Linked DNA regions of Homo sapiens: all the other regions are linked to region 6. Evidence: promoter capture Hi-C in 16 types of primary human blood cells and fetal thymus (Javierre and others, 2016). All regions are on one chromosome and are shown on one strand. The core of a region is centred on a gene start or on the middle of the fragment in contact, and the rest is flanking DNA. Distances in the headings are between cores, read along the strand shown. Region 1 overlaps ZNF142 (zinc finger protein 142). Region 2 overlaps PLCD4 (phospholipase C delta 4). Region 3 holds the start of PLCD4 (phospholipase C delta 4). Region 4 overlaps STK36 (serine/threonine kinase 36). Region 5 overlaps TTLL4 (tubulin tyrosine ligase like 4). Region 6 holds the start of GPBAR1 (G protein-coupled bile acid receptor 1). Region 7 overlaps STK36 (serine/threonine kinase 36).

Region 1 (3,540 bases), core at 412-2,911, 390 kb after region 6:
TCCTGGCTAATTTTAAATTTTTTTGTAGAGATGGGGTCTCCCTATGTTGCCCATTCTAAAAATAATTTTAAAAAATAAATTGTGCCGTTACTGATGGACATTTGGGCTGTTTCCAACCATTACAAATAAAGCACCCCTATATATCCTCATCCTTGCTCTGGCCACTGTAATTCCGGTGTCTTTGTGCATTCCTACAGTGGAATTAGTGGTCAGAGTATGCAAATTGTAAAATTTGCTATGTAGCTAAATTGACCTTCAAAAGATTATACTAATTTGTATCTCCATAAGCTGTAACATAGTGTTTCCTATAGCCTCATCAACACTAGGTATTATTAAAAATGTTTAATTTATGCCAAAATGCATCTCCTTTTTTTTTTTTGAGACAGAATCTCGCTTTGTTGTCCAGGCTAGGGTTCAGTGGTGCGATCTTGGCTCACTGCAACCTCCGCCTCTCGGGTTCAAGCAATTCTCCTGCCTCAGCCTCCTGAGTAGCTGGGATTACAGGTGCCCACCACCATGCCAGCTGATTTTTTGTATCTTAGCAGAGGTGGGGTTTCACCATCTTGCCCAGGCTGGTCTCAAACTCCTGAGCTCAGGCAACTGCCTGTCTCGGCCTCCCAAAGTGCTAGGATTATAGGCATGAGCCACCATGCCCAGCCACATCTCTTATTTTTAACTGGAATTTATTTCTTTGCTAGTGAGATTAAGCATCCTTCCATATGGTTACTACTTTTATTTCTTCTTTAGAGCATTGCACATAGATTTCTTTTTCCCATTTAAAAAAAAAAAAAGGTTTCTGCTGGGTGCGATGGCTCATGTCTGTAATCCCAAAACTTTAGGAGGCCGAGGTGGGAAGATTGCTTGAGCCCAGGAGTTCAAGACTAGCCTGGGCAACAAGGTGAGACCTCGTTTCTACCAAAGAAAATTTAAAAACTAGCTGAGTGTGGGTGGTATACACCTGTGGCCCCAGCTACATGGGAAGCTGAGGCAAGAGGATTGCTTAAGCCCAGGAGGTCAAGGCTGCAGTGAGCCGTAACTGTGCCACTGCACTCTAGCCTGGGTGGCAGAGCAAGACCCTGTCTCAACAAAACCCCCAAAACCAAAAGAAAACAAAAAAAGCAAAGCAAACAACAAAAAAGATGGTTTCTTTTTCTTACTGTGGCTCTTTGAATTTTAAAGATATTAACTCTTTCTTACATATTGCGAATGTTTTTCCTAGGCTTTTTATTTTTTTAAATTTCTTTCACCATATGGAAGTTTGGAAATATTATATGGTCAAATTAGCTAATCTTTCCCAATATTCTTTGTCACTATACTACAGTGCCAACTGAAGTGGTGACAACTATGGCTGGAGGACGGTAATTAAAAAACAGGGAAGCTTCCTAAAAATAAGAGGTGAGGATAATGGGATGAATAAAGGGAGAATCTTTCATCTGAGATAAATACAAATGCTCAACTCCTACTTTTTTGTTTTGTTTTGTTTTTTTAAAGAGATGGGGGTCTCACTATATTGCCCAGGCTGGAGTGCAGTGGCTATTCACAGGTATGATCATAACATACGGCAGCCTCTAACTCCTGGGCTCAAGCAATCTTCCTGCCTCAGCCTCCCAAGTAGCTGAGACTACAGGTGCATGCCACTGTACCAGGCCTCAACTCTTATTCTTAACAACATGCCTCGGATGAGTAAAGTATGTTATACACAAAAAACTAGGGCAGGGAAATACCAGATCACTTCTGGAAAGCCCTGCCAAGCCCAGGGTGGTAGAGACAGGGTTTTTGCTTAATCCCTGGCTGCAGTTCCTGGGTAGGAGGGTCAATATGGAGGAAAGAATCTCCAAGGACTGTAAGAGTAGGGACAAGCCAGGATTGGGCGGAGGTGTCAGAAAGGTCTTACTTTCTGGATTACTGCCTAGCACACATGAAGCCCTTGCAGGACAGACTGCCAAAAGCTTGGTAGAAGGCTGTGCACCACTTCGCCAGCCTTCAATCAACATGCACCAACTGCAAACCAAATGACAACATCTCCAAGTATAAAAATAGGATGCTACCTTGTGTTCTCATCATATTTATACAGAATCAAAAATAACCCAGACAAAACCTCAGAGCTGCTTGTCCCACTGGCCTGCTTGCAACTGTGTTTGTACCTGGGGTCTCTCCAGGAGCACCTGGGGTCAGGGTTCCAGCTACTGTCTCCACAATGATCTCCATGTTCCCTGGTCCCTCTTCAGTTGCTGTGGCCTCTACCAGCAGGCAGCCTGGCTCAGTAGGTATAGGTGCAGGGTCCCGGGAAGGACAGGGGCTCTGGACAGGCCCCAGGATTCCACGGTTAGAGAGAGGCGGGGGGATCAGCAATAGCTCAGGGCACAGTCCATCCATCTCCCCGGTGCTACTGGCTGGCTGTGAGTCCAAAAGGGGGTCTGTCATCACCACCGACTTGTGTGTTTTGGCTTCTTAAATGCTGACAAGCCAACCAGAAGAAAAACAAAGTAAGGTTAGAGTTCTTACTTTCTTCCTGGCTGGCGTGGGTACACAGCCCAGTGCCCACCCACTTAGGCATTTTCTTGCATGGCAATATGCCATATATACCATATGAGACTAAATAGAGGCTTTCTTTTATGATAATGTTCAGAACAAAAAGTATAAAAATGATAACAGAATATTAGGAGACAGCCAACAAGTATTGGCCAATATATTAATGACTGCAGGTTGTCTTCTGCTAGCTAAGTGCCCTTAGCCAAGTCATTAAGCAATTTGGGTCTCAGATTTCTTATCTGCAACAAAATTAGGTGGGGCCCAAATATCTCAGAAGTCCTTTTTTTTTTTTTTTTTTGAGACAGAGTCTCGCTCTGTCACCCAGGCTGGAGTGCAGTGGCGTGATCTTGGCTCACTGCAACCTCCGCCTCCTGGGTTCAAGCAATTCTCCTGTCTCAGCCTCCCCAATAGCTGGACTACAGGCATGTGCCACACACGCCCAGGTAAATTTTGTATTTTTAACAGCGATGGAGTTTCACCATGTTGGCCAGGCTGGTCTCGAACTTCTGACCTTGGGTGATCTGCCCGTTTTGGCCTCCCAAAGTGCTGGGATTATAGGCGTGAGCCACCTTGCCTGGTCCCTTTCCCTCTTAACCTTTGATAATCTCACTATTCCTCAGCATGGATTATAAGGAAGGCCCTTCCTTCATCATCTGGCTCCTGCTGACCTCCCCTGACTCATCTCCCACTTCTCCCCTCAGCAGATCTCTGAACCAGATGATGTGCCATTCTCCAGACCCACCACATTCTCTTTTGCTTTCATACCCTCACAGCCTTTTGCGTCTCTTGGCTTGATATGCCTTTTCCCCTTCTCAATCTCTCTCTCTTATCTGGCTAACCAATTAACTATCCTTGAAGAAGCTGCACAAATGTCACTTCCACCATGAAGGCCTCCTGACATTCTTTTTTTTGAGACAGTCTTAGTCTGTCACCTAGGCTGGAGGGCAGTGGCACGATCTCAGCTCACTACAACCTCTGCCTCCTGGGTTCAAGCGATTCTCCTGCCTC
Region 2 (3,752 bases), core at 152-2,651, 380 kb after region 6:
CTAATTGGGTAATGTTGGGCAAGTTCCTTAACCTCTCCATACCTCAGTCTGCTCACCTGCAAAATAGGGGTAACACTACCACCTGCCTCACAGGGTTATAAGGAGTATAACAGTTAATATAAAGTTCTTACAATTCCTGGCACACAGGAAGTGCTATAAAAGAGGCTGGCTGGGAGCGATAGCTTACACCTGTAATCCCAGCGCTTTGGAGGCCAAGGCAGGAGGACTGCTTGAGCCCAGGAGTTTGAGACCAGTCTGAAACTGGTCTCAACAAAAAATTTAAAAATTTTGTAGAGACTCCCGTCTCTACAAAAAATTTAAAAATTAGCCTGGCATGGTGGCACATGACTATAGATAGTCCTGGCTACTCAGGAGGCTAAGGCTGGAGGGTCACTTTAGCCCAGGAGATGGAGGTTGCAGTGAGCTATGACTGCCCCACTGCATTCCAGCTTGGTCAAGAGTATGATCGTGTCTCTTTGAAAAAAAAAAAGTGGCTGCTGTCATTAGCATGCCTACTTTCAAACTGTTGAATTTCTACCTGGATCCATTTAATTTATTTGTTTATTCTGAGACAGAGTCTTGCTCTGCTGCAGGCTGGAGTGCAGTGGCATGATCTTGGCTCACTGCAACCTCCGCCTCCTGGGTTCAAGTGATTCTCCCATCTGAGCCTTCCGAGTAGCTGGGACTACAGGCGCCCGCCACCATGCCTGGCTAATTTTTGTATTTTTAGTAGAGATAGGGTTTCACCATGTTGGCCAGGCTGGTCTCCTGGTTTCAAGTGATCTGCCCACCTCGGCCTCCTGAAGTGTTGGGATTACAGGTGTGAGCCACCGTGCCCGGCCTTTGGGTGCATTTTAAATTGCAGATAGAATACTAGAAGAAAATATATTACCCATGGAGGATGTTTTACAAACCAAAAAGCTTCTTCTCCCCTGGGGTTGGGAGTAGGGTCGGGTGGGGCTGGGCTGAGCAGGAACTTGTGAGATTCCAGAGCCCTGACTACAGGTGATCAGCGGTCAGCAACTCCCCAAAGTGGACAAGACCAAAGAGGGGTCCATTGTGGATCCACTGGTGAAAGTGCAGATCTTTGGCGTTCGTCTAGACACAGCACGGCAGGAGACCAACTATGTGGAGAACAATGGTGAGAAACTGGCAGTGCTGGGGAGGTGGGGGTAGGAGCATGATTAGTTTTCCTTCTAGTCTGTCTTCCATTAAGTATAGCATCTGTTATTGCATGTCCCCACATGGGAGGCAGTGTGGAACAGTACAAAGAATCCTGGCTCTTCACTTAAAAGCTCCAGTGACCTGGGCAAATTACTTGCTTACTCTGAGCCTTTTTCCTTACCTGTAAAATGCTGATTGCCATCTAGATTAAATGAGAACACAAGAAAAGCAACCCAGTCAAGAAAACTGTCATAATGTCTTCTTATTTCTTTCTGTCCACCAACTCAGGTTTTAATCCATACTGGGGGCAGACACTATGTTTCCGGGTGCTGGTGCCTGAACTTGCCATGCTGCGTTTTGTGGTAATGGATTATGACTGGAAATCCCGAAATGACTTTATTGGTCAGTACACCCTGCCTTGGACCTGCATGCAACAAGGTGAGCCAGCCCCTTTGGCCCCTGGCCAATACCCCAGCTCTGGCTGCCTTCCTAATGCTGTCCTCCTGCCCCTTCCAGGTTACCGCCACATTCACCTGCTGTCCAAAGATGGCATCAGCCTCCGCCCAGCTTCCATCTTTGTGTATATCTGCATCCAGGAAGGCCTGGAGGGGGATGAGTCCTGAGGTGGGCATTTCACGGGAAGGGTTGGTGTGCTGGCTTTAGACGGGGAGAAACATCTGGAAGGATGCTCGAGAGAACAAATGGAGGTGGTGAAAATCAAGCTTTGGATTGTGCATTCCTAGGCACAAAATTACCTCATTCTTCCTAACAAGCAATCTGGGACCTGATTTTCCACCTTTTTTCTCTTTTCTTCCCTTCCTTTGTTTTCATAAGCCTTTGGTATCTTTCCTGCCCTTTTCCTTTGTGTACTCTATACTGGAGTTCCCTTCTTCCTCTTGCTGTAGGCTCAATCCCATACCGACATCTACAACTAATCTTTCCCATCAACTCTGTGTGAAGGCAGGTTGCAACTAGAAATTCAGAGGGGCTTGGAATAGAGAAACCTAAAGAAGCATCATCCCCTCCATCCCCAACTTCCTCAAAGCCCAAAGCCAAGGGAAGGATAAATCAAGGCTCAAGGCTTCCCCAGCAAAGATTAGGGAAAGAGACTTGACCCCAGGACTGTACTACGACTCTTAAGAGAACACTGCACAGCACTCAAAGTCCCCCACTGGACTGCTTCCTCCTTAGCCCCACTGGTATAAATACATCTCTCTCCAATTTGGCTTCAATATGGTCTGTCATTGTTGGGCAAGAAGGGGAGGTACAAGGGTTGTGGGGACATCTGGGTAGTCAGGTGAGACAAGGAAAAGGTAGAGAAAGAGGTTCCCAGGAGACCTCTTGCATGTGCTACATAGGAAGGACACAGAGTATGGCTTTTAAGAATCAGGGCAAAAGCAGACAAAAGGTTATGTGGTCCCAGCCTTCCTGAAGAGTCTGGCTGGAACCATCCTGGTTTATGTCTGTTGTCCCAGCATAATTATTAATAGTACCCTCTTTAAGTTTTCCCAGTGTGTCTCAGTTTAGATGATCAATTATATAGTAAGGCACTACAGAATTATACTGTGAAGCAGTTATAGAATTCTGAATTGGAGATTTTCCTCTCTAGTCATCTGCCTTTCCATAGTATCCTTGTGCTTTAACACCTTAGTGTAGCTGCTGAGCCAGTCTGAGGATTGATGATGAGCTAAAGTTGCTTCTAGGAGGAGGCTTAGTGGGTAGCAATCCTCCCTCTATAGATACAGGTAGACAAAGGAGCTTGGAAGTAGGGAGCAGGTCAAGGGTCAAGATGGCTCAAGGACAGGGAGAAGGCAGACCTAGGCCTGTTTCAGTATCAATACTGAGTGAAGATGGAAGGGACAAAAGGGAGGCAGAGGTCTGAGAGGGGACAGAGTTGATCAAGATGACAGCCTGGAAATGTTAAGACAGGGATTTGGATGAATCTATAATGTAGTAACCACTTTCTGTTTAACATGCTTTATAGAGCATTAGGCACAACAGCACATGCGGTTAGATACAACTGTTTTTAGAAGATTCTGAAAGAAAATAGGAATTGACACAGTAAGAAGGAAAGAGAAGATGGAGTGGGTAAAATCCAGATCTTATAGCCAGGGACTTTGATGGAGTGATGGTGAAGAAACTGAGAACTTGCAGGTTAAAAACGCAATGTACAGCAATAAGAAATCAACGTTATAGTCCATGTCCCTCTTTTATATGGGTGATAATTTCAAAGTACTATAGCCAGAGTCCCAGGAAGGTTCTAGTCACCCTTGTACCCCAAAAGCCAGTCTTTCCTTAGGCTCTGAGCTCCTCAGGCTAGCGCTGGTCCCAGTCTGCACATCTCAGACCATACCCTCTTCCTATACAGGAGGTGGGGCAGGCTTTCAGCCCTCAGGTCCAGTGTGGGGAGCGGCAGGAGCAGGAGGGCTGGGATCCTCCAGCTGCACATCATGCAGGTGCACTGTGGGGGTGGTGGGGTCTTTGCCCACACCCTGGTTTGGGTCGGCTTGGTCAGGGTGGTGCCTGCGTACGTGCTTGACCACCTGGAACTTTTGCTTGGCCTTGTAGTTGCAGAGGCGGCAAAAGAA
Region 3 (3,765 bases), core at 1,237-3,736, 350 kb after region 6:
TTTGGTTCGATAGTCTGGGGAACTGATCTCAGACTTTCCAGCCTGAGTGTCCTGACAAGCGGAGACATTTAATTGGGTGGCATCTGCTCTGGATGTCAGGAAGAAGGTCTAGGCAGGCCTGGGTGGCAGGGCGAGAGTACCATGTTTAGGTCTTCCTCTTTGCCAGCTGCTGCTTCATTTCAGTTTAGGGCTTCTAGGCTTTTCCTGGGCATGGTTCCCAGAAAGTCCCTCTGCTGCTACTGCCCTGATCAGGTTTCTGGATCTGTTAATAATAGACAACAGTGGGGGAAGGGGCAGCCAGGATCATGGTGGAAATAGGAATAACCATACCAGATGGACATTTACTGTGCCCAGGGGGCCCTGTCTGTCTGCTCCCTCCCTCTGTTTCATGAGAGTCCTGCAGTGGGCATGCCTTGGCACTCTGGAACCATACTAACCTTGTGAAAGTCTCCAAGTCCCTGCCCCAAAAATCAGAACATATGGGCTGAAGAATACTGTTGTATTCATGGGAACATTGAAACAGAATATTTGAGATCTAGACTCTCCCAGAAAATCCACTATGAGTGATAACACCCCTCACAGATTACCCAAGAGGGAAGGAGGTTGGGCAGCATTAAATTGATGCAAATAGTGACTCAGAAAGATGGTATATAATCTGGGGGTATAGAAGAGGAGTGTGGACTGTGAAGGTGAGGCTTGGAAAAATAAGCTGGCCATGTTGGGGAAGTAGAAATGGGAGAGCAAGACAAGCATGTAAAACAGGGCCTCTATTAAGTCAAATCTGAAATCAGCACAGTTTAAACTACGATGCCCCCCAATCTTCCTGTTCCCCATGAATGGCCTCCCTCCTAATGTGTCCCCTTCCTTCATACTACTACTCTTCTATCAAAACCTGCTCTCAGTAAAGAATATAGACAACCCAACCTAGGTATAAATTATTTAAAATCTACTTTGACCTTAGGATTGAATTTTTAAAAAATTATTTATAATCGGCTGGGTGCAGTGGCTTACGCCTGTAATCCTAGCACTTTGGGAGGCCAAGGCAGGTGGATTGCCTGAGCTCAGGAGCTCAAGACCAGCCTGGGCAACACGGTGAAACCCCGTCTCTACTAAAATACAAAAAAAAGTAGCTGGGGGTGGTGGCATGCACCTGTAATCCCAGCTACTCAGGAGGCTGAGACAGGAGAATTGCTTGAACCCGGGAGGTAGAGGTTGCAGTAAGCCAAGATCACGCCATTGCACTCCAGCCTGGGCAACAGCGAGACTCTTATCTCAAAAAAAAAAAAAAAAAAAAAAAAAAATATATATATATATATATATACACACACACACATATACATATACATATATGTATATTTAAAATCATTAAGCCTTCAAAAGTTAACACAGATATATGATATTTTAAATGAGACCTAAAAAAATAAATTTAAAAACACATATAGAAAATATATCAAGAGAATGTATAGCTTAATAAATTATTAAGTGAAGACCCTTGTTAGCACTTAGAACTAGAAATAGAGTTTAGCTAGCTATGCCAGAAGCCCCCTCTGTGTCCCATCTCACCACAATTCCTCCCCCTCCCAACAGTAACCACTATCCTGACTTTTATAGTAATCACTTAGGAGGATTTTATTTTAATGGGACTAAAAAATGTAGCTATAATCACTAATGGTAAAATATTAGGCAGTTGAGGGATGCTTGTGGAAACCATGATAGGCAGCCAGACGTCAGCACACTTAAAATTACACCATTTCACACAGTTCCCCTCTGAGCCTATGCTTCATCTCTGCACACATCTTTATAAACATGCATGTATGTCCTGAAGGTGCTACCTCCATTCTGAGGGCTATGACTTATAACCCAGAGGTGCTGAACAGATGCTTGTAGGAGGAACGAATGGATGTTTAAAAAAAAATGAGCTGTTTCACACGTTCATCTATGCATTCTTTCAATATTTAATGAGTGCCTAAAATATACATAGATTCTAACCTATCTGTCCCTCTACATTCTATCATCATTCCTGTCCTCCCCTTCTCCTCGTCTTCCTCTTTTCCCATCTTATTTCTTTCTTTTCCTGTGGGACGGAGCTACAGTGAGTGCCCTGCAGGCAGGATTCAGAGATACAGGAGCAGGCCAGTGGAAACAGACACTATGGAAAGGAGCCAGATTAAATAAGGGCAAAAACAGCCGTATTACATGCAGGAACCAGAATGAAAAGCAGTGATTCACAGAGCACTGCAACTGAGGACACTCCCTTCACTTTGAGAGCTACTGCGGGATTGGGGTCAATGAGGGCTGGCATCAAGATGAAGGGCAGCCAGGCTCCTCCCTGGAGATGTGCTGCCCTTAATCCTTCTCTCCCCACCCCACCCCCACTACTCCCTCACATTGACCAGTGTCCTGGGCCTTTAAGAGTTGGATGGGCTGGACTGGAGAGAGCTCACACCTCTCCCCTTCTTACTGCTTCCCTCCGGCTATAACTTGCCAGTCACAGCAGCCAGCTGCTGTAGAAGAGGGGAGGAAACAAGCCAGTGCAAGGGGAGCAAAAGAGAAAAGGAGCCAGGCTGGGCTTCCTGATCCCACAGCATCGCAGAGCTCGGGAGGCACAGCTCACAGACACAGGAAACACAGGACTGCTATTCTGCTCTCCTGCCCACGGTAAGGATCTGGAAGCTCTGACTACCCTCTGCTCTAAGCTCTGTCTTCCCTGAGTCCCTACCTCTGCCCTCTAGATGCTTATCCACCCTGATTAAATTGTACCCTAGACTCCTTTCCTCATCCCAACAGCTCTACAGGGCTCCCACCTCCTGGTTCTCTCTAGCTTATCCTCCTTTATCCTTACAGCTTTCCTCCTGGCTGTGTCAGTCGCCCTTTATATGAGGTACCTCTTAGCTTATGCAGGGCCAGAAGTGCCAACCCTAGCCACTCCTGAGGTGAACTCCACCCCCAATAAGGGAAGAAAAAATTGGAGTAGCTAAGCTTTAGCATAGATTCATTAACAGTTTGTTGAGGGTTGCAAAATAGGGGTTGGCCAAGAACCATGGGGAATCAGAGATCCCTGGTAATAGAGAGAGTTATGAAAGTCCCTTAGAAAGTTCTCTAAAGAACTTGTTCTTTGCCTATTCCATGGGCCAGAGCAGTTTCTTAGTGCACCAGAGTGCTACGTTGGTAAGAAAACCTACTTCTAGTTCTGCCTGTGCCATTAACTAGCTACGGGACCTGGAGCCACAACTTCCAGATCTGTGATACGAGAGAGTTTAGGGTTTCCCAGACTTGCCTGTGTACCAAGTGTACTTGTTAAAAATAAATATATTATTGAGCCCCACCCTGGGTAACTCTGATCTGGTAGATTTTTGGGTAGGGCTAAGGATCTCAATTTCAAGACATTCCAGAGGCTATTGATGTAGCTGGGAATGTCTGGATTAGATGTGTTATAAAAGAACTGGCCGGGCGCGGTGGCTCACACCTGTAATCCCAGCACTTTGGGAGGCCGAGGCGGGTGGATCACGAGGTCAGGAGATTGAGACCATCCTGGCTAACATGGTGAAACCCCGTCTCTACTGAAAATACAAAAAATTAGCCGGGCGAGGTGGGTGGCGGGTGCCTGTAGTCCCAGCTACTCGGGAGGCTGAGGCAGGAGAATAGCGTGAACCCCGGGGGGCGGAGCCTGCAGTGAGCCAAGATCGCACCACTGCACTCCAGCCTGGGCGACAGCGAGACTCTGTCTCAAAAAAAAAAAAAAAAAGAACCTTCAAGCTCCAACAT
Region 4 (4,070 bases), core at 598-3,097, 410 kb after region 6:
GATCTAGAAGGAATGTATTTATACCAGTTTGTATTCCTAAGGTACTGACTCCCTCATACTTCTTATGGAGTATAAGCTTTGAAGTTGGATTATTTGGGTGCAAATTCCATCTCCACCGCTTTCTAGCCCTAGAATTATGGACAAATTACTTAACTTCCCTATGTCTCAATTTCCTTATCTCTAGAATGGGGATAAGAACAGCAACTGATTGATGGAGTTTGAGGATTAAATATGTTTTCACATTAAATCACTTAGTACAGTGCCTGGCTGTTAGTAAACAACAAATATTATTAGTCTCTAGCACACCATGTAATAAGAGGTAAACCACTTGAACTCTATTATTTCCTCTTCATTTTTTTTTTCCTTTCCTTTCTCCTAAATCTCATCTTGAGTGCTGGTCAAATCAGAACACTTCTTCCAGAAGGGGAAATGTTTTGCAGATGCTGTTTCCTCCTGGGATGAGGAATGGGGAAAGCCTGGATAAGGCCAGGGTACCATGGAGAAAATGGAAGCGGGAGACTAACAGAAATAATAAGAGTTACTCAAACACTCTAAAATCTGACTTCTGGAGCTCTGAGATTAAGGCTGAAATTCTAGATCTTTTCAGTAGTGTGATTAGGCGTTAACTTTTCACCTTACCACTGACAGGTCGTGGCCCTGAAGTTCATCCCAAAATTGGGGCGCTCAGAGAAGGAGCTGAGGAATTTGCAACGAGAGATTGAAATAATGCGGGGTCTGCGGCATCCCAACATTGTGCATATGCTTGACAGCTTTGAAACTGATAAAGAGGTGTGCTTTGACAGTTTTGGGCCCTGTCTCCCCAAGCACAAGGGTTCCAGGAATTTCCCAACCTCAGAATGCATGAATCTGGAGCCATCAGTGCCACTGCCTTCTCTCTGTAGGTGGTGGTGGTGACAGACTATGCTGAGGGAGAGCTCTTTCAGATCCTAGAAGATGACGGAAAACTTCCTGAAGACCAGGTATGCTTTCTGCCTTCAACTTCTCCCCACCTCCGACCTCTCTCCAGGTTAGAGAACTGGTAGAGCAAGCTAAGGACACTGAGAGTCTCCATTTCAAAGACTTCTGAGAAGAATATAAGAGTCTAGGTATATAGAGGCAGTGTAGTGTGGGAGTAAATTATGTAAACGTTGGAGTCAAAATATCTGAGCAGGAAGCTTGGCTCTGCTCCTTCCTAGCTGGGTCTCATTGGACAAGTTACTTTAATTTCTTTGTGCTTAGTTTCCTAATTTGTAAAATGGAGATAATAATCATGTTTGCCTGATAAGTCTATGATGAAGAGTGTTAAGTCATGTAATGTGTTTGAATAGTTAGCTATTATTAACATTATTGTTATTAGATACCTTTAGGGAAGAAGGGCCAGTGTAATGGTACCAGAAAGAGGGCAGTAAGAATAAAGGTTGTGGGGAGTCAGGATTTGGCACCAGGACGTAGTGGTTAGCAGTGGGATTTTGTTGCACATATCCTCCAGCCACATTTATTCTAGGCGTTTGTCTGTACCCAAGCAAGTAGGCCCCCCCTGGGATTCATTATTGCAGCATTCTCTTTCCTTCTGAGCACTCACCACTATTTGTAAGTAATCATATTTTTGAAATTATTTTATTTTTAATTGAATTTTATTTTTTGAGACAGAGTCTCGCTTTGTTGCCCAGGCTGGAGTGCAGTGGCACAATCTTGGCTCACAGCAAACTCCGCCTTCCAGGTTCAAGCAATTCTCGTGCCTCAGCCTCCCCAGTAACCAGGATTATAGCATGCGCCACCATGCCTAGCTAATTTTGTACTTTTAGTAGAGATGGGGTTTCACCATGCTGGCCAGGCTGGTCTCGAACTGCTGGCCTCAGGTGATCTGCCCGCCTCAGCCTCCCAAAGTGCTGGTATTACAGGTGTGAGCCACCACGCCCGACCACCATATTTGTTTTATCTGTCTTGTTTGTTTGTCTGACTACTTTTCTTGAAAAAAGGCATTTTGTCTTATTTAATAACAGGTAATGTGTATTGAATATTTACTATGTGCCAGGCACCATTCTGAGTATTATTTTGCATGCTTTAACTCAGTCCTCACAATAATCCTCCATGTAGATGGTGTTATTATATAGATTGTCACCTTAGTTTGCCCATGGTCAAGCAGATAGTAAATGAGATTCAATAAATTTTTCTTGAATGAATGAATGAGCAAATGAAAGAGTGATTAAACAAGGGGAACAATAACTAAGAAAGAATAGTGTGAAGCTCTGCAAGAAAGGGAAGGAAGAAAAGATTAGCAGTAATATTAAGAGAAATTTTTGGGCTTGTCAGCCAGCTGCTGTTTCTAACCTTTTTTTTCTTTCTTCCACCTCTTTAATTTCTAGGTTCAGGCCATTGCTGCCCAGTTGGTGTCAGCCCTGTACTATCTGCATTCCCACCGCATCCTACACCGAGATATGAAGCCTCAGAACATCCTCCTCGCCAAGGGTGGTGGCATCAAGCTCTGTGACTTTGGGTAAAGATTCTGAGCATCCATCTAAGCTTCCAGTTCCACACGGAATCTTTTTTTTTTTTTTTTTTTTTGAGATGGAGTTTCACTCTTGTTACCCAGGCTGAAGTGCAATGGTGCGATCTCCACTCACCACAACCTCTGCCTCCCGGATTCAAGCAATTCTACTGCCTCAGCCTCCAGAGTAGCTGGGATTACAGGCATGTGCCACCATGCCTGGCTAATTTTATATTTTTAGTAGAGATGGGGTTTCTCCATGTTGGTCAGGCTGGTCTCGAACTCCTGACCTCAGGTGATCTGCCCACCTCGGCCTCCCAAAGTGCTGGGATTACAGGCATGAGCCACTGAGCCTGGCCCCACAGGGAATCTTAGACCATACTCTTGACTTATTTGGGCCTCATTTTAGAACCGGAGCTAGAGGCTGGGACTGCTGCTGGGTCTTCTGGAACCTAATCAAAGGTGCTCCCTCTGCTCCGGTTTGGGATATCTCTATGTTAGGTAGTAGTGACCAGGTTTAGAATATCTTTTCCCTTTCCATTTCCATCCCATTATCTTCTGCAGATTTGCCCGGGCTATGAGCACCAATACAATGGTGCTGACATCCATCAAAGGCACACCACTCTATATGTCTCCAGAGCTGGTGGAGGAGCGACCATACGACCACACAGCGGACCTCTGGTCTGTTGGCTGCATACTATATGAACTGGCAGTAGGCACCCCTCCCTTCTATGCTACAAGCATCTTTCAGCTGGTCAGCCTCATTCTCAAGGACCCTGTGCGCTGGCCCTCAACCATCAGTCCCTGCTTTAAGGTAATGAATATTGAAAGGGAGATGACTTTTACATTAGAAATCTGTCTCCCTCTATCTCTGTTCCTTTTTCCAAATCCTTTTCCAGAGCTGAGGCGGGACTTTGCAGTTACTGAATTAATGGCTGTGTTATTCTGTTCTCGCATTGCTATACAGAACCACCTGAGACTGGGTATTTTATAAAGAAAAGAGGTTTAATTGGCTCACAGCTCCATAGCCTGTACAGGAAGGATGGCTGGGGAAGCCTCAGGAAACTTACAATCATGACGGAAAGCAAAGGGGAAACAGGCATGTCTTACGTGGTGGACCAGGAGGAAGATAGAGAAAGGAAAGGTGCTACACGCTTTTTTTTTTTTTTTGAGACACAGTTTTTTTTTCTTTTTTTTTTTTTGAGACAGAGTCTCGCTCTGTCACCCAGGCTGGAGTGTAGTGGCGTGATCTTGGCTCACTGCAAGCTCTGCCTTGCAGGTTCACACCATTCTCCTGCCTCAGCCTCCTGAGTAGCTGGGATTACAGGTGCCCACCACGACACCCGGCTAATTTTTTTGTATTTTTTAGTAGAGACGGGGTTTCACCGTGTTAGCCAGCATGGTCTTGATCTCCTGACCTCGTGACTCGCCTGCCTCAGCCTCCCAAAGTGCTGGGATTACAGGCATGAGCCACTGCTCCCAGCCTGAGACAGAGTTTTGCTTTTGTTGTCCAGGCTGGACTGCAATGGCGCGATCTCGGCTGACCGCAACCTCTGCTTCCCAGGTTCAAGCAATTCTTCTG
Region 5 (3,902 bases), core at 264-2,763, 460 kb after region 6:
CATTTCATACTTTGTTATGTTAAAATCCATGGATCTGTCTCACTTTGACTGGGTCTTAGATCCATACATGATTCTGTAACATGTGATACAGTCATGCTACACAGTCATGGTATAGCCTATTGCTCCTAGGCTGCAAACCTGAACAGCATGTCACCATAATGAGTATTCTCTGCAGTTGCAACACAGTTGCAACACAATGCATCTAAACATTGAAGCATAGAAAAGGCTACTGTAAAAATAAGGAATGATAATCTTTTTTTTTTTCTTTCTTTAGAGGGAGTCTCAATCTGTCGCTAGGCTGGAGTGCAGTGGCGCAATCTCGGCTCACTGCAACCTCCACCTTCCTCGTTCACGCCATTCTCCTGCCTCAGCCTCCCAAGTAGCTGGGACTACAGGCACCCGCCACCACGCCTGGCTAATTTTTTTGTATTTTTAGTAGAGATGGGGTTTCACCATGTTAGCCAGGATGGTTTCGATCTCCTGACCTCGTGATCCACCTGCCTCGGCCTCCCAAAGTGCTGGGATTACAGGCGTGAGCCACCACACCCGGCCTGGAATGATAATCTTATGGGACATTGTCTTCTATGGGGACTATCTGTTGACTGAAACATTATGTGAGGCATGACTGTTAGGAAAATACTGGTTCACTGAGTTATGCAGATCTCCCACGTGTCACAGTTTATTGTATAGTGTCAAAAAAATCATATCACCACAATCTCTTCAGAGAAGTAGTTAAATATTGGGAAGCACTCAAACTCGTGGTGGCAGATACCATTTTGCCAAAATTCTAATTTTCTTTGGGAAGCTCAAATTTTATCATTGGCAACAAGTACAGTCAGTTGGTTTCCTTGAAGTGACAGGCTTACTTTGTTTCATTTTCCAGAACCTTTGCCAAATAATGACGTCGGAATAACTATTACTTATGTGTCATTCATTCTTTCAAGTAAACATGGCGTTCCACAGAAAAATCCTGCAATTCAGACAATCACACAAGTGCTTTAGAGATAATCAACATGTTCTGCATGCAGCATAAATGTTTTATATGTACTTCACATTTTATCACACAGAATATTAAAAAGCATACTCAAGGACACTTTTTAATGAGATTTAATATAATTTACACTGTGTCGGGCTGGGCGCAGTGGCTCACGCCTGTAATCCCAGCACTTTGGGAGGCCGAGGCGGGCAGATCACAAGGTCAGGAGATCGAGGCCATCCTGGCTAACACGGTGAAACCCTGTCTCTACTAAAAATACAAAAAATTAGCCGGGCGTGGTAGTAAGTGCCTGTAGTCCCAGCTACTCAGGAGGTTGAGGCAGGAGAATGGCGTGAACCCAGGAGGCGGAGGTTGCAGTGAGCCGAGATCGTGCCACTGCACTCCAGCCTGGCGACAGAGCGAGACTCTGTCTCAAAAAGAAAAAAAAAATTTACACTGTGCCATCAAGTAAACCTGGTTGTATTCTTTCACTGTGTGGTGGAAAAGTATAGTGGGTAAGAATCTAATTTCGTGCCATCGTCTTGATTCATGCTAAGTCACCAGCAGTTTTACTCATTATTGCTTTTGCTCTATCAGTGGAAAGGTCAGCACAGTAAAAAGGCAAATAACATCTTAGGTTTTTTTCTTTTTCTTTTTTTTTGTCCGAAGACAGGCTGGAGTGCAGTGGCATGATCATGGCTTACTGCAGTCTCCACCCCCCAGGCTCAGGTGATCCTCCTACCACAGGCATGCACCACCACATCTAGCTGATTTTTTGTATTTTTTTTTTGTAGAGACAAGGTTTCACCATGTTGCCCATGCTGGTCTTGAACTCTGGAGCCCAAGTAATTTGCCCACCTTAGCCTCCCAAAGTGTTGGGATTATAGGCACAAGTCACCCCACCCAGCTACCTCTTAGTTTTGTTATGAAAATATTTTCTATGTAGCAGGACCGCCAAAAGGATCTTAGGGTCCCCTCAGGGTCTGTGGACCATGCTTTGAGAACTGCTGCTCCAGAGCCCACCTGAGAAGGAGGAAAGAGCCTCCTTCCCGAAGCTGATAAAGGGCAAGGCTTCAGGAGAGTGAGTCACCCCATTACATAAACCCTTCCACTGGTTTCACTTTTCAGTAATTTATAGGTTTACCTCCCTCAGCTCCAGCTGCCATAACCTGTATCTTTTCCTCAGGTTTGCTTACTTGTTTGGCATTGCTAAACTGTGCTCTACAAGAGCTACCTGTAATTTCACTAATCTTGACTTATACGGACCCACCCTTCTCACTAGGCTGTATTCTTGACCTTCCTCTCTTAGTAGGGCTTTAGGAGAGATATATTGCTCCTCCACCTTTCCTTAGGGAGAGAGAGCTTGGGATTTATCTCATAAGAGAAAATTAATGTGATTCCTACACTCCTCTCTATTTGGTTCCAGGCAAGTCAGTTCTATCTTCTTCTTTTTTTTTTTTTTGGAGACAGAGTCTTGCTCTGTCACCCAGGCTGGAGTGCAGTGGCACAGTCTCGGCTCACTGCAAGCTCCGCCTCCCGGGTTCAGGCCATTCTCCTGCCTCAGCCTCCCAAGTAGCTGGGACTGCAGGCGTCTGCCACCACGCCTTTTGTATTTTTAGTAGAGATGGGGTTTCACCGTGTTAACCAGGATGGTTTTGATCTCCTGACCTCGTGATCCACCTGCCTCAGCCTCCCAAAGTGTTGGGATTACAGGCGTGAGCCTGTCAGTTCTATCTTCTAACATAACTGTTGAGCAGTTGAGGTAATCTCATCAGAGATCTTGTGGACTGTAGACTGAACCATTTCTGATGTCCTGAGTTTCCCTGGTGACCGAGGGAAACACCTAGTTGAAGGAGGAAAGGGAAACTGCATTTCCCAAGAGCCACACTCTCTTGTAGGAGAGTGATTTAATTAGTGGGTAATGAATAATTGCTTTCTCTAGAAATAGATACCTTGTCCAAGTTGGTCTGGGCCTGGTCCCTGGAGACTTGTTGGTTTGCGACAGCAGCAATAGATTTTCTTTTCTTTTTTTTTTTTCTTTTGAGACGCAGTTTCACTCTTGTTGCCCAGGCTGGAGTGCAATGGCGCAATCTCGGCTCACCGCAACCTCTGCCTCCCAGGTTCAAGCGATTCTCCTGCCTCCACCTCCCAAGTAGCTGGGATTACAGGCATGCACCACCATGCCTGGCTAGTTTTGTATTTTTAGTAGAAATGGGGTTTCTCCATGTTGCTCAGGCTGGTTTCGAACTCTCGACCTCAGGTGATCTGCCCACCTCGGCCTCCCAAAGTACTGGGATTTCAGGCATGAACCACTGCGCCCGGCCAGCAATAGATTTTCTAACATAGGCTACTAATCATTCACACTCCTTTAAGGAGGAAACTTGAGGCAAAATCACCCCATAAAGATTGGAGGACAGAACTGTATAGGCAGTTTCCAAATGCTGCATGAAGATGACAAAGTAGGATGTTCAGATTCCTGAGAATGGGTGTTTTAAAGGGGAGAGTCTGGAGCCAGGGACATCAGTCAGGCTGCTTACCTTAACAGTCCTGCACTTGGTGTTAGAGGGGTTGGAGACTGGGCTGAGGCAGCCATGCAAATAGAAGGGGATGTTTCAGGCCATTTTGTTGATCCATACAACTTTCTGCAGTTTTTTATTCTTCACTCTTACCCCTTTATTCAAGTTTTATTTTTATTTTTAACAGTTTTGTGGAGGTATAATTCACATTGAACATATCCATCGTTTCTAAGTCAATTTTTTAAAAACTTTTGTTCTAGGAAGACTTAGTGTTCCATAAAGTTGTTGGGGGAGGAGACTTGGGCAATATTGCTAATAGGAGGCCAAACTGGACCAGGGTTCTTCCCACCCCCTTCTGCCAGCGTGGCTCTGTATTTGAGGTTAAAGATCCCCAGAGATTTCCTATAAAA
Region 6 (3,584 bases), core at 948-3,447:
AGCCTCTTAAAGTGCTAGGATTACAGGCATTGAGTGTGAAGTGTTGAACAGCGGCTCAGGGAGGCCAACCAGGGTCCAGCAAACCCCGTCCCTGCTGCCTCCATTGGTCCAGAGCTGGTACCCGCAGCCAGCATGACACTCACCCAGTCCCAGACATTGTGGGTCAACAGAGAGAAATTCAGATAGCTAAGAGAATGGAAGCGGACAAAGGAGGCACAGGAGGATTCCATGCCAGAGTCTGAATTGGTCACCCCCATTCAGGCTCTGCCTGAGGAAAGGAGAATGGGGTCCGGGCACAGTCAGCTGGATGGAGCGTCTGAAGACGGCTTGCACCAGAGCCCTCCGTGGCTGAAGGGAGAAGCTAGGGGGTGAGTCAGCCCCAGGGCTTGATGGAACAGACAGGAACTAGATGATCTAGGAAGGGAGAAATGAGGCTGAGCAGGAGACAGCCCAGGCTCCCTGGCTGCCACTACCTAATCTGTCCCCCTTCACACACATCCCACACACAGTGTTTAGACAGAGCAGCAGAGAAGAAACAGACATCCTGGATCCCACAGGGAGCAGGCTGGGGCTGGGAACAGGAGGTCTGTTTATTCCTGGAAGTCACATATCAGAAGGGTCCCACACCCACTTCTGTCCAGGCCCCAGGCTGAACTCTCCCAGAGCCTGTGACTTCTGCCCGACCAGATCCCGTGGTTCTGAGGACCGGCCCTGGAACCCTGCGTCCTTCCGACCCACCAGCTCCCTCGAGGATGGACTTGAGGCTGGATGCTTTCCTCTTCCCACTTTTTGTCCCAACAGAAGTCCCTGATCTCCAGGATCCCTGACTGGCTGTGCAGAGCTGGCACAGCCACACTCCACGGGCTTCCAGCCCTTCAGGCCCAGCTCTCCCGGAGAGCACCAGAGTCCCTTTGCTCCATTTACTTGCGCTCTTCAGCCAGCAAGTGTTTCCTAATGTCTCACCCCCAGTCCCAGCTTTCCTGCTGCAATTTCCGCCTGTTCCCTCCCATTTCAGGCCTTAAGGGAGTGTGGCTGGGCTTCTCTCCTCCCCCTCACTCCAAAGCCGCACTTGATACAAGGTGGAAATCAAAGCACCACTTCTGGCTTCCCAGCCTTGAACTTGCCCTTCCCTCTCAATGTATCTGGTTTCCTCAGCTTCCCTGTGCAGCAAGAGTGTCACTCCCCTCTTGCTTTTCCCAAGCTCCCCATGCGCCCCTCTCAGCAGATCTGTCTTAGAGGGGCCAGGTGCAGAGAAAGGCAGAAATCCTAATAATGTTCCCAGCGATCGCTGCCTGTCGCGGAGTGCTGAAGGGCCAAGTGTTGATCTGAGTCCTCATCACACGGGACTTCATTTAGTCTCACGATAGGTGAGTACAACTATGGGCCCCATTTGACAGATGAGGAAACTAAGGCAAGGGAACTTTAGTCATTTGCCCAAGTTCACTGGCTTTTTTAAAAAAGGATCCAGACAGCTCTGATTCCAGCGCCAGCTCATGCCTCTTCATCATGGGGGAGGAAAGAGAGGGAGCCATTTGTTGGGGCAAACCCCCACCCATCAAGGGCCATGCACTGGGGTATATGCCGCCATATGTGTTATCCTGTGATATTCCCCACCACGACCTTAATTAGAGGTGGTTTTTCTTGTTCCCATTTTAACACAGGCAAAAACCGAGGCCCAGTAGTACCTTACCCATGGTCACATCCCCAGAGCCATTTGTCCCTCATAGTTCAGAACTTGACTCAGAAAGCAGTTGAGAAAAGTGTGGAATGACCCCAGATTCAGGAAGGCAAGTCTGGCCTTAGAAACTGAAAGGCCCATCAGGTGATGGGATGGGGGAGTGAAGATCCTCAGGCCCCAAACACCTGCCACTGCCACCATCACACACGGAAGTGTGGAGGGAGCCTGGTGTGCTGTCAGCTGGCTGGCCAGTCCAGGGGCTTAAATGTAAATGCATCAGCTGAGGCGGGAAGTCGGGAGGGGTAAGTCAATCATTATTATTCATTAACTGGAATGCATTTCTCAGATTACTCCGAGCTGGAGTAGGGAAACTGCCACCTAGGTGGCAGGGGGAGAGGGGAACTGGGTGGGAGGGGGAGGCAGGCCTCCCAGTTGCTGCAGTTTGGAATATGTCAGGTCCCACCCTCCCAGAGGCGGGGCCAGGGCTGAGTCCTGCCAGCCTCATTTCTCTATCCCTCTGAGAACCCAGACGGGCAGAGCCTGGGTAGGAGAGCCTGGCCCCGCTGTCCCCACTGGGTGGAGACACCATGCACTTGGTCCACTTGTGCTCTTCAGCCAGGACACCAGACATGGTCCAAACCGCTGCAGGGCTGGCTGCAGCAACTCCCTGACACTCAGGAAGGCCCAGGCTGGGCAGGCAATACCTGCTCCCAACAGCCATGTGAGTAGCTACTCCCCCAAACCCCCAAACCCCAGATCCTGGAGAGGCTACTACACCCAGCCCAAGCCACCAGACCCTCGGGGGTGTGCAGGTGGTACAGCCTGCACCCTGCTGGGAAATCACCCCTGGGGGCTGCTCCCTGCCTTTGTCGCTGTTCTAGTGGAGGTGGGTTGGGGGGAATCATTCCGATTAGGGCTGGGAGCTCCAGCTCAGGCCAGGTTTGGGGTAATGGACCCTGAGTCTCACGGGACTTAAGAGAGTTGATGATGCCCTGGGAAAGGGAACAGAAACTGCAAGGCCTCTAGAGAGGAAAAGACATCCTGGGTGGAGGGCACTGGAAGAGATTGAGAAAGAGAAAACATGCTTAGGGGAGGGGAAAGGGGGCATAAGGCCTTGGAGGCCCAGGCTCAGGGTGCTGGGGGAACCTGGGAAGGAAGGGGAGCATCTTCCTTCCTCTCAGCTCAGGGCAGCCATGGGGCCCTGATCCCCTGTCCTGGAGGAGGGGAGAGGTATGAATCCTTTCCTTATTGACTTGGATCCTAGCAACAGCAGCTGCTCCCCTGTTGACAGAAGCAGGAGTTCCCACAGGACCCAGGACCCCTCCCCCTGTCCCCAGGATGTGGCAGCAGAGCCATGACACTGGAGGACTGAGACCAGGGAATGACGGGAAGGACAGGGACAGATGAGAGCCACAGAGAAGCCAGACTCTGCCCAGACTCCTCTTCCCTCTCCTCTGGGCTCAGCCTCAGGCCTGGGGGTGTGGGGGAGTCCCTCTCCTTGCTGCTGGCATCTCCACGTTCACTGCCACACGTGCCCTCCAGCTGCTTCTCTCCTCCCTCCAGCTCCCAGGAAGGACCCTGTTGCTAGTGTGGAGCAAAGACGAGTCAAGTTTATGGGCTGGAAGTCCTACCCGGAGGCTGCTCACTGAGCTGTGATGGCTACAAGGACAGATGGGGGGAAGGGTGCAGGGTGCCCGAGACCTGGCCCGCTGGAGCCTGTCACCTAATGGCTGGCTGGAAGACCACTACACACCAGCCAGCCCTGGTCCATTCTCTCATTTAGAGGCCTCCCCGGTGGAGGCAGGGATACACAAAATGCTTTGGGGCTGGATGGGCCCGCCTTTCAGTCTAAACAAGAGACCTCAACACAGCTGCCCAGAAAAGGCAGATACCAGAAATGGATAAA
Region 7 (4,140 bases), core at 834-3,333, 430 kb after region 6:
CCCAAGTGCCCTTCCCATTTAGGAACAGGCCAAGTATGAAGAAGCTGTGATTTGTTACAGGTTTAGGAATCAGCTGAGTGGCCACTCATAGTCCTTTTAAGGACCCTAAGACAGCTCCAACTTGGCCTCAAGACTTACAGTTTCTAAGAGTCAGCAGTCACCATGGTCCTAAAATGGAAGGGTCAAGATGTGAATAACCTATTCCAGGAAGCCAATTGGATTAAAGAAAGAAAGAAAGAAAAAAAATATGCGAATAACCTAGAGAAAATGGCAAAGAAGGGGCTTGGAGGGTGTATGTGTGTGTGTGGCAAGGGAGAAGGGAGGAACATTCTGATGTGTCCCTTTGCAGAGATTCTCCTACCTGCCCAGGACTGACCCATTCACCACATCCAGGCTTTTAGTAGAGAGATAAGAAATCATGGGCTCATTTTCCACCCCCAGCCTGCAGGTGTTTCAGGAGGCTGCCAACCTTTTTCTGGACCTGTTGGGGAAACTGCTGGCCCAACCAGATGACTCTGAGCAGACTTTGCGGAGGGACAGCCTTATGGTAATCTGCTCCCACTTCCAGATTTCTGTGTCTCCTATCATTCTCCGTGTTTCTCCCATCCCCTTTCTTATGACTATGTAGGGTCAGATCAAGTTAATATGACAAACATTTGTTAAATTCCCACCATGCCATATGCCATGTGAGTAAGAAAAAGTGCCTGCCTTCAAGGGACTAGGGATAATTTAATAGGGGAGAGGTAAAGGGATTAAGGACAACAGTGAAAAGTACATTAGAACTTTGCATATAATACAAGAGCACTGCTGTATTTTATGAAGAAGATGCAGTTAACCACTGCAGAAGATGCACTTAACACTATTTGGAGTATCATAGAAGAAATCTCGAAGAAGGAAATCATCTCTGCTAGCATTTGAAGAATACATCGCAGTTTGCCACGTAAATGAGGCACAAAGTAGAAATTCTATACAGAAAGAGTAACATATATAAAGGCCCAGAGGCTTTAAGCAGTTTGGCATATTTCAGGGGACCACAAATAGAACGACTTCTTCTTGAAAAGACTTGCAGATCATCTAGTATTGTCTAACCTCGTTTGTCCTGAGGATTAGTAGACTATGCAGTTCTTTTCCCTAGATCCTGGAGGTAAGGGACAGGAGAATGGAGGATTGAATGAGAAAATAGCTGTGTTCTGACTAACCTCAGAGGAGATAGAGAGGAACATATATTTGTAAGGAAGTAAATAATTGCCTGGTCATTGTTAAAACTGGTAATTGGGAACATAGATCTGGACTACTACTTGCCTTTAGCTAGCATTCACTCAGACTTTCCTGGTCTGAGATCCTGTTTTAATATCCCTCACCCTTTCAAGTCAGAAAGCTTTTACTGTCTAACCTAAATTTTGGCCAGCAGTGACTCATGCTATTGGCCAGCACTTCTCATGTCATATGCTATGAATAGAATGGGGAGTTTGGAATAATTACCTCCTGAAATTCTGAATCAGTAGGACTGAGTTGGGAGGGACCCAGGAATCCCTAGGATTTCTTCTTTTCTTTCCTTTTTTTTTTGGAGACAGGGTCTCTCTGTCACCCAGGCTAGAGTGCAGTGGCATGATCTTGACTCACTGCAACCTCCACCCTCCGGGCTCAAGCAATCCTCCCATCTCGGCCTCTTGAGTAGCTGAGACTATGGGTGCACACCACCAGACCTGGCTATTTTTTTTGGATTTTTAGTAGAGACAGGGTTTTGCCATGTTGCCCAGGTTGGTCTCAAACTTCTGAGCTCAAGTGATCCACCTGCCTCGGCCTCCCAATCCCCTGTTGGGATTACAGGCATGAGCCATTGCACCTGACCCCTAGGAATTCTTATACTCACAGTCTATAAAAAATACTTTGAGAAACATCATCTAGGGAGCATCTGATCAGAGAATAGAAGGATTGACACCTAAAATTATTGTCCTTGAAGCATGAATGAAAGCAGTTCTAATGCATTTTTGGTGTGAAGAATGCTTAAAATTAGACATGTGTTTGCTTTGGTTTTTGTCCTCTTTCCTCAGATCCTCAGGGTTTTCTTGTTTTTTACACTAAGCCCAGTCTTCTGATGCCCTGATGCTACCTCTGCACTTCTCTCCTTTAGTGCTTTACTGTCCTGTGCGAAGCCATGGATGGGAACAGCCGGGCCATCTCCAAAGCCTTTTACTCCAGCTTGCTGACGACACAGCAGGTTGTCTTGGATGGGCTCCTTCATGGCTTGACAGTTCCACAGCTCCCTGTCCACACTCCCCAAGGTAACCAGAGTGGAGAAGGGAGGTTCTCTTGACTTACTTGTTGCATAGGTCAGGCTCCGCTCTTTCTATTGCCATCACCTAGATCGCACCTGGCATTTAGTAGGTGCTCAATAAATAACTGTGAACTGAGAGAATGAATGGGGATCTGAGGGAAACAAACAGACCTCATCCTGCATTCTTCCCACTCCCTTAGGTTCCCTACTCCTGCTGCCATGTCGGTGAGTACTGGTGCTATTGTCTAGGGCAAGAGCCTCAGGCCTTTGGAGTTACTCTTTGCTTTTCTCCACAGGAGCCCCGCAAGTGAGCCAGCCACTGCGAGAGCAGAGTGAGGATATACCTGGAGCCATTTCCTCTGCCCTGGCAGCCATATGCACTGCTCCTGTGGGACTGCCCGACTGCTGGGATGCCAAGGAGCAGGTCCGAGCTACAATTGGTTGTTCCTCTCATCCTACTGCCAGAGGAATTGAGGAGGCTAGCCCCAGTTTTTCAGAAAGGCAGAAAAACAAGCTTTTAAGCCCCTCCTTTAGTACTTCCAGAAACAGATGCTCCCACCCTGGGCCATTTGTAGAACATGATATAGCCAGAATCCCAGAGCCCATGGCCAGTTGGTGAGGGAGAGAGCACAGTGATAAACTGCCCAGATGGTGGGGCAGCTGATCTGAAGCCTCCAGTGATGCTTCCTCAAGGGCTGAGAATTCAGCTTTCCTGATCCCTGTTGGTCGGTAATCCTTTCCTCTGTACCTGGCTACACTGGGGCCAAACTAGGCCATGACTTTTGGTTCTCTATTGGTGATGAAGACTGGGAATAGAATGGGGTCTGAGGTTTCTGGTGAATGTGGGAAGAGTGACTAGGAAGAGACTGAGAGTCCTGATCATTTTGGACATATGTGAGGAATAGGGTTGTAATCATGTGGATAGGATTGAGCCTTCAGGTATGTCTCTATAGGTCTGTTGGCATTTGGCAAATCAGCTAACTGAAGACAGCAGCCAGCTCAGGCCATCCCTCATCTCTGGCCTGCAGCATCCCATCCTGTGCCTGCACCTTCTCAAGGTAATCCTCTTAACTCCTGGCATCACAGCTTTATTTTTAACTCCCAGTGCAGACAGAGAAGCAGAGAAACAGACCAAGAGAGGAGGACTAAAAGAGAGAGAGACTGAGAGAGACCATTTGAGACACCCCCTTGGAAGACTCCTTTCTGCTTTTAAATCTGTTCAACTGAGAGGACCCCACTGTTAGCCAGTCCTCAGCGGAACCGAGAAGGGTCCCTGTCTCACTATCTCATAGCAAGAGGCAGAAGGGGGTTCTCTCACACTCCCAAGTGTGGGTACCAGATCTTTTGAGGGGCTGGCCGGTGTTTCCGCTGAGCCTTCAATCTTGGAGCCCGGGGCCTGCCCTGCCTCACTGCCAGACTCCTTCCTTCTCCCTCAGGTTCTATACTCCTGCTGCCTTGTCAGTGAGGGCCTGTGCCGTCTTCTGGGGCAGGAGCCCCTGGCCTTGGAATCCCTGTTTATGTTGATTCAGGGCAAGGTAAGCCAGCTTCCCCTGGCAGCCCCACTGTCTCAGCCAGAGGTTGTTCTGATATCTTAGGTTTCCTTTGTAGGTAAAAGTAGTAGATTGGGAAGAGTCTACTGAAGTGACACTCTACTTCCTCTCCCTTCTTGTCTTTCGGCTCCAAAACCTGCCTTGTGGGTAAGTCATAAAGTAGGGTGTCTCCACAGAAGTCTTCTAGCCACATAGCTAACCCTCACAAAGAGTATGGGGAATGGTACCCTACAGCATATCCTTAGGAGGAATTGGGATAGAGAGCGTGAAGCTTTCTCTACAAAGAACAGACCTAGACTCCCATCAACTTTG

The links. The method cuts DNA at HindIII sites, captures the fragments that hold promoters and counts their contacts. A CHiCAGO score of 5 or more calls a contact.
Region 1: a fragment that was not itself captured here is called in contact with the fragment with the promoter of GPBAR1 in region 6 in 4 of 17 cell types (fetal thymus, naive CD4 T cells, naive CD8 T cells and 1 more); the score reaches 6.3 in fetal thymus.
Region 2: a contact is called between a fragment that was not itself captured here and the fragment with the promoter of GPBAR1 in region 6, in 6 of 17 cell types (total B cells, non-activated CD4 T cells, naive B cells and 3 more). The highest score is 5.5, in total B cells.
Region 3: a contact is called between the fragment with the promoter of PLCD4 here and the fragment with the promoter of GPBAR1 in region 6, in 1 of 17 cell types (neutrophils). The highest score is 6.4, in neutrophils.
Region 4: a contact is called between a fragment that was not itself captured here and the fragment with the promoter of GPBAR1 in region 6, in 3 of 17 cell types (total B cells, naive B cells and naive CD4 T cells). The highest score is 6.4, in total B cells.
Region 5: a contact is called between a fragment that was not itself captured here and the fragment with the promoter of GPBAR1 in region 6, in 2 of 17 cell types (fetal thymus and neutrophils). The highest score is 5.3, in fetal thymus.
Region 7: a fragment that was not itself captured here is called in contact with the fragment with the promoter of GPBAR1 in region 6 in 1 of 17 cell types (total CD4 T cells); the score reaches 5.0 in total CD4 T cells.

Annotation. Positions count from the first base shown.
Region 1 is chr2:218,654,006-218,657,545 of GRCh38, forward strand. It overlaps ZNF142 (zinc finger protein 142), which reads right to left. Exons shown (of 11, transcript NM_001379659.1): 4 at 2,145-2,458. The coding sequence starts at 2,424. Among named protein-coding and RNA genes, the nearest start is that of ZNF142, 3.8 kb to the right of the region's middle. The HindIII fragment of the contact is 571 bases long and covers 1,377-1,947 here.
Region 2 is chr2:218,634,791-218,638,542 of GRCh38, forward strand. It overlaps PLCD4 (phospholipase C delta 4), which reads left to right. Exons shown (of 16, transcript NM_032726.4): 14 at 1,006-1,141; 15 at 1,453-1,602; 16 at 1,681-2,385. The coding sequence ends at 1,787. It overlaps ZNF142 (zinc finger protein 142), which reads right to left. Exons shown (of 11, transcript NM_001379659.1): 11 at 1-3,752. The coding sequence ends at 3,549. Among named protein-coding and RNA genes, the nearest start is that of ZNF142, 23 kb to the right of the region's middle. The HindIII fragment of the contact is 965 bases long and covers 920-1,884 here.
Region 3 is chr2:218,605,413-218,609,177 of GRCh38, forward strand. It overlaps PLCD4 (phospholipase C delta 4), which reads left to right and starts at 2,487. Exons shown (of 16, transcript NM_032726.4): 1 at 2,487-2,658. The HindIII fragment of the contact is 12,670 bases long and covers 1-2,977 here.
Region 4 is chr2:218,672,977-218,677,046 of GRCh38, forward strand. It overlaps STK36 (serine/threonine kinase 36), which reads left to right. Exons shown (of 27, transcript NM_015690.5): 3 at 649-789; 4 at 903-980; 5 at 2,367-2,497; 6 at 3,053-3,302. Among named protein-coding and RNA genes, the nearest start is that of STK36, 2.9 kb to the left of the region's middle. The HindIII fragment of the contact is 1,348 bases long and covers 1,174-2,521 here.
Region 5 is chr2:218,715,378-218,719,279 of GRCh38, forward strand. The region is part of intron 1 of TTLL4 (tubulin tyrosine ligase like 4); the gene reads left to right. Among named protein-coding and RNA genes, the nearest start is that of TTLL4, 6.5 kb to the left of the region's middle. The HindIII fragment of the contact is 4,797 bases long and covers 1-3,902 here.
Region 6 is chr2:218,258,818-218,262,401 of GRCh38, forward strand. It overlaps GPBAR1 (G protein-coupled bile acid receptor 1), which reads left to right and starts at 2,198. Exons shown (of 2, transcript NM_170699.3): 1 at 2,198-2,399. RefSeq lists an enhancer at 2,645-3,450. The HindIII fragment of the contact is 11,967 bases long and covers 1-3,584 here.
Region 7 is chr2:218,690,009-218,694,148 of GRCh38, forward strand. It overlaps STK36 (serine/threonine kinase 36), which reads left to right. Exons shown (of 27, transcript NM_015690.5): 14 at 442-547; 15 at 2,135-2,285; 16 at 2,575-2,702; 17 at 3,232-3,336; 18 at 3,715-3,813; 19 at 3,887-3,975. Among named protein-coding and RNA genes, the nearest start is that of TTLL4, 19 kb to the right of the region's middle. The HindIII fragment of the contact is 1,414 bases long and covers 1,377-2,790 here.